2 separate regions of the Homo sapiens genome follow, and region 2 is linked to region 1. Evidence: promoter capture Hi-C in human tissues and cell types (Jung and others, 2019). All regions are on one chromosome and are shown on one strand. The core of a region is centred on a gene start or on the middle of the fragment in contact, and the rest is flanking DNA. Distances in the headings are between cores, read along the strand shown.

Region 1 (7,166 bases), core at 1-2,500:
AATCTCCCCCCGTACACACACACCACCACCACCGCTACCACCACCACTACCACCACTAAAGCTGACCTGAGCACACCAGCAGCAAAGGAGCCGGGGGAGGTGGGCGCAGGGGGCCCGGAGATAAGGGGCTCCCTTCCCCTCCAGTTTCCCACACAGGAGGCCCAGGCGTCCTGTCCGCCCAGAGCACAGGCTTTCACTGCCCGCTGCGACTCCTCTACAGTAGAGAGTGGGGCAGGGGCGCACACCAATTCTAGGTGAAGCCACAGTCACCCTTCCCCTAAATCAAGGTGACTTCTCACTGTCCCGCACTCACCCGTCTCCCTTGTGAGTCCTCTGGCTGTTGGTGCAACAGCCTGGGCACAGACGCCCCTCCGGAGCTTTCCCTGTCCTCCTAACAACCCCATTCCCCTGTCTCCCTACGCTGAAGCCAAAGCAGTGAGGGACACGGAGTCAGAAGCATTGTCGAGCCAGAAAAACAGACGAGACGTTCTTGTTCCGGCGCGGGCACAGAGGCCCCAAGGGCCGGCGCGCCGCACTCACCGTCCCTGCTTGGTGATGATCATCTCTGTCTGGTGCTGATTAAACTTGGACCACAACAGGTGGTTGTTGAGCGCGACCCTCAGTTTCCCCGACACCTCCAGTCCCGCGGGTAGCGCGTAGTCCTCACGCGGCCCCGGGTAGAGCCCGGCGCGCGGGTCCGGGGCGGCGTAGCCCTCGCCCGGCTGGTAGCCCTCGGCGTCCGCGGGCGGCGGGAAGGACTCGCCCGCGCCGGGGAAGCCGGCCGCCTGGGGTCGCGGCGGGTAGGCGTAGGCTCCAAGGAAGCGGCTCGGCGGGGCGGGCACCAAGGCGCCCCCCGGGTAGGGAGACCCCAGGCTGCCGCCCCCGCGACGCTCGTCCGCGTCCTGCGCGCCCGGCTCCGGGTAGAAGTAGCGGTGCTGCGGGTCGGCGCCAGGCGCCCGGCCCTCGTCGCTCCCCGGCATCGGCTCGGTGCCCGTCAGCATGTCTCCGCAACCCGGCTCCACGATGCCCATCCGGGGCGGGCTGGCACCTTCCCGTAGCCGTCGAGGACCCGCCCCTCCGCGCGCGAGAGGGTCGCGTGGGCTGGGATGGGCAGGGAGCAGGGGGCGGGGGACCCGAGGGCCGGGTGGGGGACCCCACCGGAGCCCGGGCTCTGACGCCTGGCTTCTACGCCCTCGTCCGGCAGGCGCGCGGCAGCTCTCGGGCTTCCTCTCCAGCGGGCCGCTGTCACTAGAGTCGCAGCGCTTTGCTGTGGCTTTATGAAGCTCTCCGGCTCCCCCCCACTCCGCCACCTCGGCCCTGCTCCGCCTCGCCCCACCCCGCCCTCTCGTGGCTAATACTAGGCAAATTCTACGCTCTTGGCGAGTACTGCAGGGCCCCCCATGGTGGAGAGAAGCGAGAGCCTGCGCGCACCCTGTAGTTCGAAGATCTTGCTTTCTGGGAGTGTCAGCTCCGCTGCCTGACACACCAGCCCGTGGCTCTCTTCTGGACCCTCGGGGAAATTCAGCCCAGCTTTGAAGTCTCAGCTCAAAGGCCCTCTCCTACAGGAAGCCTTCCGAGATGGCCCAAGTGGGACTCGCTGGGCATTCTCCTGGCACTCAGAGGCTCGGAGCACGGGCACACTAGAAGCAACTTTGACCATGAACATTCAATCGATCTTTATTGATACCTACTGTGTGCCCAGACTCTGTGCTAAGTGACCTTTCGGGTTGCCCTCTTTCTCCCCACCAGAGGTCCACATGTGCTGAGTTGGCTGCATCTTGTAGCTCTAGCCCTGGGGGCAGACCTGGAACCTGATGGACAACAGGAAATGTTCCTTAAAGCGCACTGCATCAGCAGCAGCCAGGGGTTTGCAGGGCCCTGAGCTGGGCCTGGCAGGGCCCACAAAAGCTCCCCTACCCTGCATGGCAGTCATGGGCACTGGAAGTAGCATTGGGCTGCCAGTGCTGAGAGTCCCAGGTCTGGCTCTGCCTGCCAGGTATATGTGACCCAGGCAAGTCATTTTCCTTGCCTGAAAGTCAACCTCACGTGCCTCATCCATAGACTGGGGGAAATAAACAGATCTACTTTTCAGGGGGGCTGCAAGCCTTACATGAGAGGGTGTACGTGTGCAGCACTTTCCAATCTATTATTATACCTGGATGGAAAAGCTGCTTTGAACAGATTCAGAGCCGGCTGACAGGAAGGAAACCCACCACATGCTCTGAAGGGCTGCCTCGGAGATAGGACGATGGAGGCTTTTCTTTCTCCATTTTCCTTTTATGTTAACTAATGTATTAGACTCCTTTTATGATGAAAACTATCCGTTTCCCCCCCCCCAATTGAAAATAGCATCATTGGGAGTTTTCCTGTGTATAAAGATGAAACATACTTATATAGGAAATTTAAGCAGCACAGAAAAGTAAAAACAAGACTGTATAAATCACCCCAAATTCCACCCCCTAAAGCCAAACAGGATTAACATTTCAGTGAACACCCTCTGAGACCTCACTCCTTATATACTCTCTGTCTCTGTCTTTTGCACACATGCACAAATATATAATTTATATAAACACTACACATGCTGCTTTATAATGTGTACTTTTTTTTCACTCCACAAGGTGTCATGGAATATTTTGCATATCAGTATATAGATAAAGATTTACATTTTTAAGAGTACTTTGAAAAATACTTTAATATTTTTGTCATGTTAAAGTTTAACTTCTCCTCTCTCTACCTTCACCCCAGTCCTCCCCAGTTCTCCCCTGGGAACTGGCCCCAGCTCTACATTTCTGTCCCAGCCTGACAGGGCTTCACCCTTAGGGGCCTATGGGGACTCTCTGCTCCCAAATAGAGCTGAACCAAGAGGCAAGTTGGCAGGCAAAGGCAAAGCTGGGGACTCCAGGAGGTGGGCATGACCCAGGGAGGCTTGGGGGAGAGAGAATCAGCACATCTTTTGAGGTTGGAGACCGGATACATGACAGTACCAGAAACACAGGACTGGCCTCCTCCCCAACACCTTACCCACCATTTCTCCGTACCTTAAGGAACAGGGAAGTTTCTGCCTGATGTTCAAAGTGGGGCAGCATTGCTTGGAAGAGAGGGTGACCTTGGGATCCTTCACTACTTTTGGGGAAACATGAGAGCTTTCAGTAAGACCCTCCTGAATGACTGATTCCCTAGGAGATGTGAGACTGTTGAATGCTGACACCCCTTTGGGGGACATTTTTGCTCAGTGCTTGGCTGTTGAAGATCAAATGGAGTCTTGCTCCTCCCTCTCTCTCCCCCTCCTCTTTTCCACATTAATCCTCAGGTCAAGTGATTCATCCCCTTGCCTCTGAACAGGATGACATGAGCTCCCACCCAGCTTTCTGGGGCAGGTGGAATTATGAATCTCAGAATCAGGTGGCCCTGGGGCCATGCCTCTGGAGGAAGAGGAAGGCTGGGGGTGGTCTCTCTAGAACCTGACAGGCTGTTATAGGGTCTTACAGCCTGGTTCCTCAATCCCCGATTTCTCACCCCCTCTCTCCAATTTCTTCCACCCAAAAAAGAAAGTGCTTGTGAAAAGCGGGGGCTGAGTGGCCCTGGTGTCACTGCTGCCAGTCCCGCCCCTCTGCCAGCTTGGGTGAGAATAAGGGCCCTGGCAGTGACACCTTCTCCTCCAGCTGCCACCTCACCCTCCTCCCGGGCCCTGGGGCTGGAAAGGTGGGAGAAGAGGAGTGAGGAGATGAGGCCCCCTGGGATCCCCTCACTTCCCCATGGCTGCTCCTCCCAGCCCTCTCTATCCCATCAATACAGGGAGCATTATGAGGCTGGTCCTGGTGAGACCGGAGTGAAGAAACACAAGATAAGTGTCCAGGAATGAGAGAGACATGGCCTCCAACCAGCATCACATTTTATGAGACACGGTGGATGGTAACTATGCAAAATGGAATAAGACACCAAACTCACACAGTGCATTTGTGGCAGAGCTGAAGCTAGAACCCAGGTCTCTTGACTCCCAGGCCAGTGCTCTTCCCACAAGAATGAGGAAGAATCATACTAACACTGGAAAAGGTTTAGAAAACAGGCCGGGCGTGGTGGCTCATGCCTGTAATCCCAACACTTTGGGATGCCAAGGCCAGCAAATCACTTGAGGCCAGAAGTTCTAGACTACCCTGGCCAACATGACAAAACCCCATCTCTACTAAAAACACAAAAATTAGCTGGGCATGATGGGCGCCTGTAATCCCAGCTACTCAGGAGGCTGAGGCAGGAGAATCACTTGAACCCAGGAGGCAGAGGTTGCAGTGAGCCGAGATCGTGCCGCTGCACTCCAGCCCGGGAGACAGAGCAAGACTCCATCTCAAAACAAAAACAAAAACAAAAATAAAAATTAGCAGGTGTGGTGGCTGGCCCCTGTAATCCCAGCTACTCAGGAGGCTGAGGCAAGAGAATCACTTGACCCCAGGAGGAGGAGGTTGCAGTGAGCTGAGACTGTGCCACTGCACTCCAGCCTGAGTGACAGAGGGAGACTCGGTCTCAAAGAAACAAAAAGAAAAAGAAAAGAAAAGGTTTAGAAAACAGAAAAGAAAATCATGCCTAATCCCACAGCCTAGACACTGGTTCTCTCCACGCTGTTGTCCTCTGCAAACGTTCAGGGCTTCCTTTCAAACTGTTTCCCATGAAGACTCAAAATGAGAGAGGCTCCCCGAAGGTCACACAGCACTTGCTTCACCTGTGGGCTGCAGACTATGCCAGGAAGCCACAACGATGTGGATTTCTGGGACTTGCTTCTAGAGATTCTGAGGCCCAGGCCTGTGGCGGGTCTCTAGAATCTGTATGTTTAAGGACTCCAGGTGATGCGTTGGACTTCAGGGAGTCCATGCACCCCACTCTCAGGCTCCCTCCCATTTTGCTGTCCCATCTCCAAGTCCCATCCTGCGAGTCAGTGTGCCTTGAGCTTGCTGGGTATGCACACTGAGGGCGGTGGAGGAGGTTTCATGCCTGAGGAGGGTGGCTGCAGGCATTGAGATTTCCTTATTGATGCTCTAGGACCAGATGATTCCTCACCCCAGAGTCTACCAGCCACCTGGGTCCTCTCCTGAAAACGTATGGAGTGCTGAGCTCCCTAGGCACCTGGAAGGCTCTTGGATGGGTTTGGTGGGGCAGCTGGGGAGGAGCGGCTATTACTGGAAACTGTTTTTTTGTTTTGTTTTGTTTTGTTTTGTTTTTTGAGACAGAGTCACTTGCTCTGTCACCCAGGCTGGAGTGCAGTGGTGCGATCTCAGCTCACTGCAACCTCCACCTCCCGGGTTCAAGCAATTCTCCTGCCTCAGCCTCCCGTGGTGGGTGGGACTAGAGGCACATGCCACCACGACCGGCTAATTTTTTGTATTTTTAGTAGAGATGGGGTTTCACCATGTTGGCCAGGCTGGTCTCGATCTCCTGACCTCGTGATCTGCCCGCCTCAGCCTCCCAAAGTGTTGGGATTACAGGCATCAGCCACCACGCCCAGCCTACTGGAAACTGTTAGTGGAGCATGGCATGGCACCAGGACCCAGGATTTCCACCCTCCACCCTGCTGGGCAGAGCCTTAGAGGCTGTGAGAGGGTAGATAGTAAAAGAGAGGGGGCAGCGAGTTGGGGAGAAGGCGTGAAAAGAAAGAGAGAGCAAAGTGAGAGGCTTAGGGTGCATTTCTGAAAGAAAGATTTAGACCCAGAGAGGGACAGGGACCACAAAGTCAGGGACCCAGATCGTGACTCAGTGGGAAAGTCTCAGGCTGGGCCTGCGAGAGGGGCATGAAAGAAAGGAGACAGACAGAGATGGGCCAATGGGAGGAAAGTCTGCAGAGGCAGAGAGGCCTGGGGGTGCTGGAGCTGGGGCAGAGAGAAATGGGGTGGGGAGACTTAGTTGGGTGGCTGGGTTGGAACCTCAATCCCAACCCTTACTGGCTGTGCTACCTATTAAAGTATCTTAACCTCTCTGGGTTTTTTTTGTCAGTAAATGGAGCTATCAGACCTCTGCCAGGACTGACTGGGTCTGTCATGTGAAGGTTGAGGGATGCTGTCCTAAGGCTGAAACAAAACAGAGGCATAAACTGTGCTAAGCCCTCTTTCCTCTACTCCCAGCCACTTACACCTGCCCTTTCCTCCCTCTGGCTTAGTGGCTCATCCACAAAGTGTCCTTCAGGTCCATCCTCAGCCTCCACTCAGGGCCTGGGGCCAAAAGAGAGCCCCTCTGTTCATAAGACTCACATATTAGAAAGGGACAGGCTTCCCCTCCTGATACCCATATACCATTCCCTGGGTACCTGAGCGCTGGGATAAGCCAGGCCCTTGGAGATCTGGGATCACAAAGATAAATTAGGGTCAGTCCCTGCCCCCAAAGAGCTCCTAGCAAAGTGACCCCCTCAGCCCTCTTGCTCCTGGGGTGTAGACTCACAACACACCACGTGCACACACGCCATCATCCACGCATGTGCACACACACCCCATGCAGAGCTATGCTAGGGAAATCTCTGCGATCCAGTCCCTGCAGCCCCACCGCCTGCTCTTGCCCCACATCCAGCATCCCAGAGCTCCTTCAGCATCTGACTCTGCCCACCCCGCGTGCCCTGAATCCCCTCCCCCTCTGGGCCCAGACTGCCAGTCCTTCAGAGGGCATGGCCGGAACCATCAGATTAACAGCCAGAGAGGGGGGAAGGGGAGGGACAAGCACCTGTAGAACCCCCCCGCCCCGTGACAGCTGCAGGAGTTCCGAGTCCCCAGCACCCAGCACCAGGTGGTCAGTGTGAACACAGAACAGAGGGCTCCTCCCAAGGTCAAGGGCTCCAGGCTCTCATCTGCAGGCTGGGTCACCCTTCCCCACACACCCCCCACCAAGCCTGAGCGGCCCTTACCCCTGGGCTCCAGGCCAGGCCTGGGTGCCTTTCAGTCCTCCTTCTCCGTGGCATCTTATTTTGAATCATCTATCCTCTCTCTATCTCTAGCTGCTCTCACCCCTGCCAGCATTTCACATAAGACCCACACCCTCCATGCACACCCACGCATGCAGTAGGCCGCCCCCGCTGCACTCCCAGGCTAGGGCTCCTGCGCCCTCCTGAAGGGATATTCAGACATCAGGTACTTGGGTAACTCTGTTATCAGGAGGGCATGCCACAGTATGGATGGGCAAGCCCAAGCTTCAGG
Region 2 (7,166 bases), core at 2,400-4,899, 290 kb after region 1:
TTTGACTTCTCTCTGTTGTCTTTGTGTGCTGTCTCTCTCCAGCCCGCTCTCCCCAACCCTAGTTACACATTCTCTTACATTTGGTATTCTCTTTTTCTCAGGAATAGTAAACTATTATTCATTATATTTGTTTCTTGTGGTCTCTCCTCCCCTTCCCCTCCCCTCTTCTTTTTTTCCAACATGGTCTTACTGTTCCCCAGGCTGGAGTGCAGTGGTGCAATTACAGCTCACTGTAGCTTCGACCTCCCAGCCTCAAGTGATCCTCCCACCTCAGCCTCCTGAGTAGCTGGGACTACAGGCATGCACCATCATGTCTGGCTACTTTTGTTTTTATTTTTTGTAGAGATGGGATCTCATTATGTTGCCTAGGCTGGTCTTGAACTCCTGGATTCAGACAACCCCCCTGCCCTGGCCTCCCAAAGTGTTGGAATTACAAGCTTGAGCCACCATGCCTGGCCTCTTTGTGTCTTTTGTGCTTGTCAACTTTATATATTATTTGCTTTCTTACTCTCAACAATTCCAAGACTCAAAGGCCTATTTATTTGATAAGGACTGTGGAAGAATGGCACTATAATATCCCTCATTGTTATTTCTTTTCTCTTAGCTACCAAAGGCAGCAAACATTCCAATCTAAACTTTTGGAAATGGGAGTGTATAGTAGCTAACTTAAAATTGTTCATGAGATTAAAATCTATAATCTCACTTACCAACATTACCTATCTCAGTGCTTTTCTTTTTGTAATATTTATTTATTTAGAGACAGAGTCTATTAGTCCGTCACCCCAGGGTGGACTGCAGTGGACAATTATGGTTCACGATAGCCTCAAACTCCTGGCCTCAATCAATCCGTCCTCCCACCTCAGCCTCTCAAGTAGCTAGGAGTACAAGTGCCACCACCACACCCAGTTTTTTTTTTTTTTAATATTTATAGAATTGGTAGAGAGACAGCGTCTTGCTATATAGCCCAGGCTGGTCATGAACTCCTGGCCTCAAGTTATCCTTCCAACTCAGCCTCCCAAAATGCTGGGATTACACTCAGCCACTATGCCTGGCCCTATCTCAGTATTTTTTTTTTAATGTTCATTTGGCTTCTGGAGTACTCTAGATGATAGGTATTTATATAATATAATCTGATAAGAAATTGATTAGGAGATTTTACAAAAACTGATACTTAAGGGGAGGTTACATTGCTGGGAAACATGGTATCAAAATAAGACAGGTCAAATTTGAGAAATCTCTGATTCTACAGGTTACCCTACAGGTAAGTGACTCAATGTCTCAGTCCTAAATTTCCAGGAGAGCAATTCTGATGTAAGCACCTGGATTTAGAAGCTGTTTTCACCTAGACAAACATGAGTACCTAGGCACCATTCCATTATTAGAAATTGAGCATAGATGCTAATTTCTAGAAAAGAGAGCTGGGTTGTCCAGGTGGGCAAGAAGTTGCAGTTTTGATCAGGCTGCTGCTGCTGCTAATTTTTTTCCAGTTACAAAGTTCCAGGATACACAGTTTGCCTCTTTCTCCCCTACCCCCGGCTGGCCCCCCCATTATAGGTCAAATTTATTTATTTTTTAAAGTTGATAGCATTGACGTATCCTGGAATTGTGACCATTTAAATTCCCAGATAATACACCATGTGATCATCTTTTTATAGGGTTATGTCAAGAACCTTTTGTATGTACCACCTCTTCCCCACAGTGATGAAGAAACAAAGAATGCATGTTAGTTGCAAAAAGTCTGAGTGAAGTAGACTCCTAGATTAACGTGTCTTATGTGACACTAGGAGCATATAGATCATTTTTAAGGGCATATAAGTAACCGTGATGATTAATGTTTACAAATTGGTTTTAATTTTTTGAAACTGTTGTTGTGCCATGTAATCCATTATGGTTTTCTTCACAGAAACATTTAAATGGAGTTTTTTCCTTTATCTAAACTCTTAACCAAAAAATTTTTTTCTTTTGTTTTGAGATGGAGTCTCACTCTGTTGCCCAGGCTGGAGTGCAGTGGTGCAATCTTGGCTCACTGCAACCTCCTCCCCGCGAGTTCAAGCCATTCTTTCAGGTACACATGGAACATTCACTTAGATAGACCATAACCAGGGCTATAAATAAATCTTAATTAATTTAAGAATTTAAATCATGCAAAATATATTCTCTGGCCAAATGTATTAAATTAGAAATCAGGCTTGGCACAGTGGCTCACAACTATAATCCCAACACTTGGGGAGGCCAAGGCAGGAGAAATGCTTGAGCCCAGGAGCTCAAGACCAGCCTGGAACACAAAATGAGACCCCATCTCTACAGAAAAAATGTTTAAAATTAGCCAGGTGTAATGGTGTGTGCCTGTAGTCCCAGTTACTTGCAAGGCTGAGGCAAGAGGTTGCTTGAGCCCAAGAGTTGGAGGCTGCAGTGAACCATGATCATGCCACCTGCACTCCAGCCTGAGCAACAAGCAAGACCCTCTCCCTAAAAGAAATAAATAAATTAGAAATCAATAATAATTAAGATATCTAGAAAATGTCCCAATATTTGGAAATTAAAGACTACATTTCTAAATAACCTACACTTCAAAGAAAAAATCATTAGGTAAATTAGAAAATATTTTAGTAAATGATAAAAAGCACAACATAACAACGTTTGTGAGATGCAATGAAAGACATATTAGGGGAAAATTTGCAGTTTTAATGTTAGAAAAGGATAAAAATCAGTTATCTAAGCTTCTATCTTAACAAGCTAGCAAAGAAGGGTAAATGAAGCCCAAAGTAAACAAAGACCAAATGATAGTAACAATAAAAATATAAACCAATGAAAAAGAAAAACAAAAGAGAAAAGTTAACAAAAATTAACAAAATCACCATTTGTGTAAAATTATTAATAAATTTAATAACTCCCTAGCAAGACTGGTTACAAACAAAAAAGAGAAAATAGAAATTACAAACATCAGGAATGAAAAATAAGACATCACACTATAGACATTAAAAGGATAATAAGGGGATATTATGAACAATTTCATGACAATAAACCTGACAAATTACATAAAATAAACTTTGACAAGACACAGTTCCACTTATAGAAAGTATATTTCTTCTTTATGATACTTACAGAAAGATATAGTGACAACTACAGAAAGATTTAGAAGAGGGAGGCTCTAAAGAGCTATATATCCATTGAATAAATAGAGCTCAATATTTTAAATCTTCAGGAATAGATGGTGAATTCTACCAAACATTTAATGAAAACAATAATCCTAATCATAATCATAAACTGATATGGTTTGGCTGTGTCCCCACCCAAATCTCACCTTGAATTGTAATAATCCTCAAGTGTCAAGGGTGGGGCCAGTGGACATAATCGAATCATGGGGGCAGTGTCCCCATAAGTGAATAAGTCTCACGAGATTTAATGGTTTTTATAAATGGGAGTTCCCCTGCACAAGCCCTCTTGCCTGCCGCCATGTAAGAGGTGAATTTGCTCCTCATTCGCCTTCCACCATGATTGTGAGGTCTCCCCAGCCATATGGAACTGTGAGTCAGTTAAACCTCTTTCTTTTATAACTTACCCAGTCTCAGATATTTCTTTATTAGCAGCATTAGAACCAACTAATGCACAAACTCAACCAGAAATAAAAAAGGGAGGGAAGACTTCCCAACTCATTTTATGAGGTCAGCATAACCCTAACAAAAAAATCTGGAAAAGACACTAAAAGAAAACTATAGACCAATATCCCTCATAAACATACTCTCAAAAATCTTTAATAAAATATTAGAAAATCAATAAGGTTAAGAGCTCTGTTGTATAACATGGTGACTACAGTTAATAACAATGTATAATATTTTTGAAAATTGCTAAGAGAAAAGATTTTGTGTTCTCATCACAAAAATAGGTATGTGAGGTAAAACACGTTAATTAATTCAATTTAGCCATTCCACAATGTATGTACATATTTTGAATCATGCAATATACAGTACATACAATTTGTATTTGTCTATTTAAAAATTAAAGGGTGACTATAGTTAATAATGTATTGAATGTTCTCACTACAAAGAAATGATAAATGTTTGAGCTGATGGTGTGAAAGGAAAATAAATCTCGGTATCCCAAAATCACTAAGCCAAAGGGAAAAGTCAAGCTGGGAACTGTGTCAGGCAAACCTACCTCCCATTCTATTCCTAAAGGAGATAGCAACAGAGATAAAAAATAAAATAAAATAAAATAAAATAAAATAAAAGAAGAAGCTACATTAACTCCCTCACAATTTGCCCATAAGGAAATTCCCCGCTTCAAATTGTCTTTCCCCTGCCCTTCTGGCCAATGTACATCTTACATGTATTGATTGATATTTCATGTCTCCCTAAAATGTATAAAACCAAGCTGTGCCCCAACCACCTTAGGCACATGTGTCAGGACCTCCTAAGTCTGTGTCATGGGCACACCCTTAACCTTGGCAAAAATAAGCTTTCTAAATTAATTGAATCCTGTTTCTGATATTTGGGGTTCACAATGGGTTGCTACTTACACTGATTTGATTATTATACAATGTATAAATGAAAGTACAATTATGTATCAATTTAAACATTTTTTAAAACACTTCTAATGTGTAGATTAACTTCTTCATTTATATTTAAATATGAATCTTCAGCAAAATAGCAAAAGTAACCATCTTGATTTAATGTCCTAGTATTTTCTTCCAAAAAATGAATTGTATAACCTTAGGTGAGGACAATAAAATCAGTTAAACTGTAAGTTTAGAACAGATCTGAGGGATAATTTTGCACAGCAGCTTTACTAATGGTACATTGTTGATTCAACAAAATGTTGGTTACACATACACACACACACACACACACACACACACACACACACACACACACAACTTAGTGGGAAACAAACAGCCAAAGGGATCAGTACCTCAACTTTGGGGGTCCTCAAATAAAGCTTTATTTGGAATTTGTAATACTGCAACCAGAACCAATCAGAATCCATTTTTTCTAGGGAGGGTTGGTAGTATAAATGAGAGTATAAACAAAGTAAATTCAAGGTATATGCATGCAATGACTGCCAAACTCAAACCACTTCATATTTAATCATTTACATGATATTCCACAAAAGGCAAAACTAGAGGGACAAAGAATGAATCAGTAGTTGCCAGGGGCTCAGGGTAGAGGAAGAAATGGATTACCAAAAGGGCATAAGAGACTTCTGGGGGATAATATAGTCTATATGTTGTGTATAGTAAGGGTTACATTACATTATTTTTAAGAATCCAAAGAACTGTATACCTAAAAAGAGTGAATTTTGCCATATGTACATTATACCTCAAAAAGCATGAATGTTTAAAAAGTGTGATCAAGAGAGTCGCTGAAGATACATGAGAACATAACAGATAGTGATAAAAATTCTACTGGATTTGTCAAAAGTTTTAAAAATTATTTTCTAATAATTTCAGAAGTCAAATATGCATACTGAATAATATATAATCTAGTAATTTTCTAGCACTATCAAGTAAGACTACCTAAAATTTTGAGTTTGGGTTAAGCTTAGCAATATTTGCCTTAGAATTCAAACAGAAGTTATGTAAACTAATCTTGTGTTGTTTTATATTCATATTGTATTGCTTCTTACTTACCTGTGCTTTAACTATCGAATCCTGTATTGTTTTTAACATGTAAACCACTGCTTGCCTTTCTAGATCTGGGCAATAAGTACATATTAAATAAAACTTACCTGCAGCTTTAGGAATTGTCAATATATCGGATAATTTAGTCATAAATTCTTGAATGCTAACCTTGCCACTTTCTGTAAGGCAAAGCATAATTTACTTAAAAGAAAGAATTATTGTTTCAGAATTAAATAATATAGCTGAAGCTAATAGTCAAATTATAACAGAAGTTAAAAGCTTGAGAGTAAGGCTGGGCTATTTCTTCTCCCTTACCTCTTGCATGCATATGATTATCAATTTCTGCTCATTTTATTTCCAAATACTTCTTGAATTTACTACTGCATTAACTAATACCTTTATTATTACAATGGCATCTTTAAAAACCTATGCCACCAGTCTCATCTTCTATTTATTTTCCACAGTATGTCAAGGGATGTATTCCTCTTTAAAAAAATTGATTATTCCCATGCATAAAACCCTTCAGTAGCTCCTAATTGCCTACAAAACTACAGAATAAATATAATACTGAGGAGGTGAGGGAGGGAAATTATAGACCAATATTACTCATACATGTGTTAAAGTATAAGTAAAATACTACTTATAGGATTCGGCAGTACAACAATGAAAAAAAAATTCAAGATACTTTCAGAACATACATTCTCATTGAGAGTGATACTGCTCTCAAGGGGTAAAACTGGTTCTTAGGAGAAAAAAAAAATCTCAGATATTACAATAGTTTCTGGCCATAGTACTTAAACAGATATATGGTATATCTGTGGTATTAAATTTTCATGGGGGTGGGGGATAATTAGGAACTAAAATGTCTATAAAGGCTTCTTAGGGGAGCAAGAGAAAAAAAGGTTAGAAACACTGCTTTAGTATGACAGTAGACACATAAATTTAATCTCTCCACGTGGTCTCCAAAAATCCATACAAATTAACAAGTAAGGCAAGTAAAATAACCTATAGTCCATGCCTACAGTGTAACTAAGAGGCAGAATATTAAACATTTGTATTTGCATATAAGTCAGGAAATAAAAATTTAGGACCAGCGCAGTCAGCTTCAGAGCCTACACCAAAGAGGAAACTCAGGCCAGACATGGTGGCTCATGCCTGTAATCTCAGCACTTTGGGAGGCTGAGATGGGCAGATCACTTAAGGTCAGGAGTTCCAAACCAGCCAGGCCAACATGGTGAAACCCCGTCTCTACTGAAAATACAAAAATTAGCCAGGGGTGGTGGCAGGAGCCTGTAATCCCAGCTACTCGGGAGGCTGAGGCAGAAGAATCGCTTGCACCTTCAAGGCGGAGGTTGCAGTGAGCCGAGAATGTGCCACTGCACTCCAGCCTGAGCGACAGAGCAAGAATCTGTCTAAAAAAAAAAAAAAAAAAAAAAAACAAAACAAAGAGGAAACTCAGGTGGCAATTTCATAGAAGAAAGAATAAGGAAATATCTTTATAATACAGAACATGGATAATATCAATGAGAGTTTACCCATAAGAAGA

Evidence for each region. The method cuts DNA at HindIII sites, captures the fragments that hold promoters and counts their contacts. A contact is called where the count stands out against the background at its distance.
Region 2: a contact is called between a fragment that was not itself captured here and the fragment with the promoter of TBX21 in region 1, in 4 of the 25 tissues and cell types used here (adrenal gland, lymphoblastoid cells, spleen and 1 more).

Annotation. Positions count from the first base shown.
Region 1 is chr17:47,727,320-47,734,485 of GRCh38, reverse strand. TBX21 (T-box transcription factor 21) reads right to left here and starts at 1,250. Exons shown (of 6, transcript NM_013351.2): 1 at 541-1,250. The coding sequence starts at 1,031. RefSeq lists an enhancer at 462-511, silencers at 692-861, 892-1,431 and a promoter at 1,243-3,242. The HindIII fragment of the contact is 11,884 bases long and covers 1-7,166 here.
Region 2 is chr17:47,439,064-47,446,229 of GRCh38, reverse strand. EFCAB13 (EF-hand calcium binding domain 13) reads right to left here. Exons shown (of 25, transcript NM_152347.5): 25 at 4,918-5,799. The coding sequence ends at 5,516. Among named protein-coding and RNA genes, the nearest start is that of NPEPPS, 88 kb to the left of the region's middle. The HindIII fragment of the contact is 4,140 bases long and covers 1,580-5,719 here.